2 separate regions of the Homo sapiens genome follow, and region 1 is linked to region 2. The links are contacts of gene promoters, found by promoter capture Hi-C in human tissues and cell types (Jung and others, 2019). All regions are on one chromosome and are shown on one strand. Each heading gives the region's core, a stretch centred on a gene start or on the middle of the fragment in contact. The rest is flanking DNA. Distances are from core to core; before and after follow the strand shown.

Region 1 (3,345 bases), core at 658-3,157, 540 kb after region 2:
TGTTTTCCTTTAAGTAAATATCTAGGAGTGAAATTGCTGCGTCATATGGCAGGGATATAATTTCCTTTTTAAGAAACTGTCAGTTGCCCCATCGTGCAATGTGGTGCGGCAACCAAGCCAGGGCTGCTCCATGAAGAGGAAGCAAAGACGGCTTGCCAGGACAGTGATGGAGAAGAACAAAAAGGCAGGATCGCCTCAATAAAAGGAGGGTGGCTTTGCCAGTTTGTAATTTAAAATACTGAAGCACAGTCTTTGAAGCAACAAGGAAATGCACACTATGCCAAGGAAGATTACAACGAAGCTTATAACTATTAAACAAAAGCCACAGATATGTGCCCTAAAAATGCTAGCTATCATAGTAATAGAGCAGCTACATTGATGATACTTGGAAGGTTCTGCGAAGCCCATGGAGATACTTTCACAGTGAAATTGGATGATGGTTTCTTCTGGGGACATCTACGAGAGGGCAAGTGCCACCTCTCTCCAGGGAATGCCATGGCAGCACATTGCAGTTTTCAGAGAGCCCTAGAACTGGATCATAACAATGCTCACTCACAACAGGAGTTCACAAATGCTAATGCAGTCAAGGAATAGGAGAAAGTCATAGAAACAAGTTTTGAGAAGTGGGCTTTTCAGAAGGTTGTTTTCTGCATGGACTATGCCCTAGAATTTGCCCCTGTCTGCCATCACTTCAATATCCCTCAAAGCAGAATGTTTAGCAATGCTGGGTCGTTATCCAGAAGCACAGTCTGTGGCCAGTGACATTTTATGAACGGATTCCACCAATGTGGATGCTCTGTATGTACGCGGACCTTGCCTTTATTATGAAGATTGTACTGAGTAGGCAGTTGTTCAGTTTTTTGTACAGGCTCTCAGAGTGGTTCCTGACCATGAGAAGGCCTGCCTTGCGTGCAGAAATGCCAGAGCACTTAACGCAAAGAAAGAAGACTGGAATAAAGCGTTTAGGGAAGGAAATTACAAACTAGCTGATGAACTGTACGCAGAACCCCCGGGGTAGACCCCGACAACATAAAAGCAATTGCTAAACTCTACTGTAACCGGGATATGGTTAATTCCGAGCTTGGGAAACTAGATGATGCAATAGACAGCTGCACAAATGCAGTGAAGCTCATGACACTTACATAAAAGCCTACTTGAGAAGAGCTCAGTGTTTCTTGGACACAGAACAGTATGAAGAAACAGTGCGAGGCTATGAAAAAAGTATATCAGATGGAGAAAACAAAAGAATACAAACAGCTCCTAAAAAATGCACAGCTGGAACTGAAGAAGAGTAAGAGGGATAATTACTACAAGGTTCTGGAAGTGACAAGAATGCCTCTGAGGACAAGATCAAGAAAGCTTATTGGAAACAGGCCTTGAAGTACCATCCACATCGTCATGATGGAGCCAGCGCTGGGGTTCAAAAGGAGGAGGAGAAGATCAAGGAAGTGGCGAGGTCTTTATCATCCTCTTTGATTCCAAGAAAACGATTCATTATCACAGTGGGCAGGACCTGGATAAGGAAGACATAAATTTGGGTGATTTTGATGCAAACAATATCTTCAAGGTATTCTTCCGCGGTCCTACGGGCTTCAGCTGTGAAGCATCTGGTCCAAGGATTTTCTTTCTTCGATTGGGCTCATGAAAGGCAACCATCCAGAATCCAGAAAATGCAGAGTCGCTCAGTTTAAATGTAATCAGCAGATCATTTCTATTAAGAGAGGAATATTTAAATCTCAAACCATAATTTGTCTGCCTCTCCTGTAGATCTATCAGTTTTTTGCTCAATGTATTTTATTATTAGGTGCATAAATGTTTAGATTTGTTTATGACCTTTTATCATTATGAAATAAACTTGAAAAATCCCATGTAATATTGTTGGCTGTGAAATCTATCATGTCTGGTAGTAATATAGTCACTACAACTTTCTTATAGTTAAGGTTAGCTAGATTATCTTTTTCTGTCTTTTAACATCTAACGTGTGTGTGTGTGTGTGTGTGTGTGTGTGTGTGTGTGTGTAAATGAATAACACCAAAAACAGTTACTTTGAGAAAATCAGTGAAATTGGTCAATCTCTGGCTAGACTGATCAAGAAGAAAGAAAATATATATGGAGAGAGAGTACATTTCTTATATGCAGCATATAGTTTGGTCTTCTGTTTTTTTCTTTTCTTTTCTTTTCTTTTTTTTTTTGAGACGAAGTTTCACTCTTGTTGTCCAGGCTGGAGTGCAATGGCGCGATCTCAGCTCACCACAACCTCCACCTCCTGGGTTCAAGTAATTCTCCTGCCTCAGCCTCCCAAGTAGCTGGGATTACAGGCATGTGCCACCATGCCCAGCTAATTTTGTATTTTCAGTAGAGACGGGGTTTGGTCAGGCCGGCCTCGAACTCCTGACCTCAGGTGATCCGCCAGCCTGGACCTCCCAAAGTGCTGGGATTACAGGCGTGAGCTGCCGCACCCGGCCCTGTGTTTCTTTTCTGTTTGACAATCTCTGACTTTTAATTGAGATGTTTTGACAAAGTTATATTTAATGTGATAATTGATAGATTCAAGTCTGTCATCTTGCCATTTGTTTTCTGTTTGACCCATCTCTTCTTTTTCTTCCCTTTTCCTCATGTCTTTGGTTGAAGAACTTCCTTTGATATTTCTTTTTTTTTTTTTTTTTTTTTTTTTTTTTTTTTTTTGTGGTGAGATGGAGTCTCACTCTGTTGCCAGGCTGGAGTGCAGTGGCGTGATCTCAGCTAACTGCAATCTCCGACTCCCGTGTTCAAGCGATTCTCCTGCCTAAGCCTCCTGAGTAGCTGGGATTACAGGTGCGCACCACCAAGCCCAGCTAATTTTTGTGTTTTTAGTAGAGATGGGGTTTCACTATGTTGGCCAGGATAGTCTTGATTGCCTGACCTTGTGATCCACCCACCTTGGCCTCCCAAAGCACTGGGATTACGGGCATGAGCCACTACGCCCAGCCTGACATTTCTTATAGAGCAAGTCTGTTGCTGATAAATATTTTCAGCTTTTGTATATGTGAAAGAGTCTTTATTTCACCTTAGTTCTTGAAACATATTTTGCTTGGTATAAAATTCTAGTTTGACAGTTTAATAATTTTTTTGTCAGTACATTAAAGATGTTGTGTGTCACTGTCTTCTCACTTGCATTTTTTCTTATACGAGATCTGCTATAGTTCTTATCTTTGTTTCCCTAAATATATTGTGATGTTTTTCTCTGCTTTACAATGTTCTATCACTTGTTTAGGAAAATTTAATTATGATGTGCCTTAGTGTCGTTTTCTTCACATTTCTTGTGCTTTGGGTTCATTGGGCTTCTTGAATATGTAGATTTATGCT
Region 2 (3,320 bases), core at 640-3,139:
TCCCATTAACAGTCACTCCTTGTCCCCTAATCCCCTCAGCCTTTGGCAGCCACTAACCTCCTTTCCAGCTCTCTGGATTTTCTATTCTAGACATTTTATATAAATGGAATCATACAATACGTGGCCTTTTGTGACTGGTTTCGTTTACTTAGCATGATGTTTTCAAGGATTGAAGCTTCATCCATGTTATTGCATGTACTTCATTTCTTGTTTTGGCTGATCATATGCCATGGTATGGATAGAACACATTTTGCTTATTTATAACTCAGTTACCTTTGTGTTGCAGAAGATGCTCATGCTTCTGTCTCCTTGTTTCCAGGCCACAGAAATAAGCACCTAATTGGGGGAGGGGAGGAGAGGGACTTACTGAATATTTTTCAAATCTTGATTTTAATAATTTTTGGCTTTCTGAATTCAAAGTATTTTGATCAGTAAATTGGTCTTTTTAATACCCCTTTTAAAAATTACAGCATCATGGAGGAAACTTCATTTGGGTTGTGAGAATAGGGATTTAAGGGGGAAAAAGTCGTACTCTAGGGTCTGACAGGGCGAAAGGACACTTTGTCATGTGACATGTTTTTCTTGGATTGGTCCTGAGATAGAGTAAAGCAAAAAGCTGGTTCCTGCGGGTTGTGACAGAGCAGTGGATTGACCTTGTTTATTCACTTGGTTCATTCGCCCTTTGTGTCACAGGGCCCTAAATGGGTCCCAGGTAGCGAAATATTAGCTTATCTAATTTGTATCCTTTCACACTCCTTAAACACATGTTCAAGGAAACAGGAAAAAATGCAGTGCCTGGATTAGAATAAAATTTAAGGCCTGGTTTGGTGACAGGCACCAGTACTTTTAGCTACTCTGGAGGCTGAGGCGGGAGGATTGCTTGAGCCCAGGAGTTCTAGGCTATAGTGTACAATGATGATTTTACTGGCATACAGATGAAAAAGAAAAAGATATTTGAAATAAAAATAAAAATATAGTGCACAATGACCAGGCCTGTGAATAGCCACTGCACTCCAGCCTAGGCAGCATAGCAAGATCACATTTCTCATATGAAACTTTACTAGAATGAAACTTATGGTTTATTACATAGATGTTGCTTATTCGTTGTAGGAAAAATTGAATTACAGATGATTTTTAAAACTACCAGAGCAAACCATTTAACCTATTTGTGTACATACTCCCAGATTTCTTACACACGTTGCAAAAAAAATAGATCGTACCATTCTGCTGGTTTTCTAAGCTGCTTTTTGTAAGTAATGTACTGTGAGCATCTTTTCATGGCCATAACTATTACATACAAAAGAAAAAAACAGGCTTCACAATAAATAGTTAAAAGACATTTTGACCTGAAACTAATGAAGAAGGGTTTTTTGGTTTTGTTTTTGTACCTCCTGTATAATGCTGAAATTGGTAATTCTGCAGTAAATATTAACATTTTCTGAGGATCTGCTGAAGATGAATGTGACAAAAAATAAGAAACTCCACTTTCCTCATCACACAGCCTTAATTAACATCGCTGGCTTTGTTTGAGATCAAGCAAACGTTGGCTTCAGTGTCCAAGTCTCTTCTTGGGGTCCCACGGCCTTGGGTCTGGCACCTCTGCTGGGCACCTCGCAGGGCTTCCGAGACGTGCCGCGACCCACGGGACCCCACGGAAGCTTTCTCCCACCGCAAGCTCCCTGGAGGCAGGGAAAGGAGCCGGGACCCGAGCCTAGCTGGCCTCAAGAGAAGGGCGGTGGCTCGCACGGCGCGGGCGGCTTTGCTCACTGCAGCTGGGGAGATGCAGGTTGGCCGTCCGGGCGCGGCGGCGGGAGGGGCTGCGGGCCTGTGGGGCGGGGTGGTGGCTCCGTGTTGTTGGATCCCTATGGAGATGACCCTGTCCCTGCCCCACCCCTCTCCGGAGCTGCGGCCCGAGTTGGCGCACTCGATTTTCACTGCGCGGTTCCAAGAGGAGACAGCCGCCACTGTACCGGGCCTCATAGCCACTTCCTAGAGGTAAAGCCCGTGGCTTCTGAGCCGCTAGTCTTTTTCTTGGGGCCGCCCGGGGCACATCGCCTGGGCCGGCTTAGTTTCCCAGTGCAGTCGCCCAGGAAGACCCTAAGCAGCGCTGAGGGGCGCAGGGCCCTCCCTCCGCGACCCTGGAGTCCCTTAGCAGCTCTGGAATTAACCAAGATTCTGAAGAGGCTCTGGGGAGAAACAAAATCCACGCGTAGGGTAGGGTTTGCATCGGGCCATGCCAAGTAAACTCTTACCTCCTCCAGAGAACTGATTTGGGATCGAAGTAAAGTTCTTGAACACTTTGGAAAACGCTGATTTTCATAGGTTCACACCAACTGCCTTCTTCCTTCTGACAGTTCTCTCCCTCTTTCCTCCTATGGGGTCCAAAAATGTAGGGAGTAGGGTGGGGGCTGGGTTGGGGGAATGAGGGAGGAATACAAAAAATCTACTGTGAATATAGGTCTTGGTTATAAGGATAGCTCTAAGAGTTAATATGCTAAGATTTGATGAGCAGGACAAATAAAACAGTGGTACTTTAAAATATCGATTTAAAAATACCGATGCTGTGCTTATTAATAAACTTTGCATATGTATCAGAACACAATATCCTGACATCATTGGTGTTAAAGTTCACTGCAACCCATGCAATTGTATCCAAGCCTGTTAAAGTCTGTTCTGCAGGAACTGACATTTGTGCTCCACAGAAACCTCAAAAATCATGCTCTACAAACACTTATTTCAGTGGGAGGAAGAAGGGTTAAGGACTTGGAAGTTTTATAGCAACAGTTGCATCTTGTTTGTTACAGCTTTAGTTTTATAGCTTTAAACTTATAAATCAGTGAGCACATCCACCATTTGAAAATACCAGCACAAGTATGGTATTTTCTATCACCGCCTGTAAGATCAATAGCCCAGGTTTCCTCAAAACACGCCATTATTTTCATTATCCATTGCTTAGTGTGTACTTAATAAAAATTATATACTGGCATGTAGTTTTACATGCCCTAAATGTGGGACATTTAACTCAACTGGAATTGTCTTTCATTTCTGTTTTTTCACCAATCACACTTACTTTTCTTCTACTCCCGTTCTTTTGTGCGATCTTTAGAACCAGATACCTTTTTGGAGGCATATTTAAGGAAGTAAATTTTTGATAAATAAAGGAATCATTGCACAATTTGCATGTGTGAATTGCAGAAGTACGCGCATGTAGGTACATACCTCTGCCGAGGAGCAGTGTTTTAATTTCTAAGCCACTCTGTCTACTGTAGTGGAGAAGGACCAGACTAACTTGCATTTCTCCAGCTGTATAACAGATAACC

The links. Contacts are between HindIII fragments. The study calls those that stand out against the background at their distance.
Region 1: a fragment that was not itself captured here is called in contact with the fragment with the promoter of ECT2L in region 2 in 1 of the 25 tissues and cell types used here (lymphoblastoid cells).

The regions. Positions count from the first base shown.
Region 1 is chr6:139,337,942-139,341,286 of GRCh38, forward strand. It overlaps the pseudogene LOC100129844. Among named protein-coding and RNA genes, the nearest start is that of CITED2, 35 kb to the right of the region's middle. The HindIII fragment of the contact is 5,360 bases long and covers 1-3,345 here.
Region 2 is chr6:138,794,198-138,797,517 of GRCh38, forward strand. ECT2L (epithelial cell transforming 2 like) reads left to right here and starts at 1,890. Exons shown (of 22, transcript NM_001077706.3): 1 at 1,890-1,995. The HindIII fragment of the contact is 5,811 bases long and covers 917-3,320 here.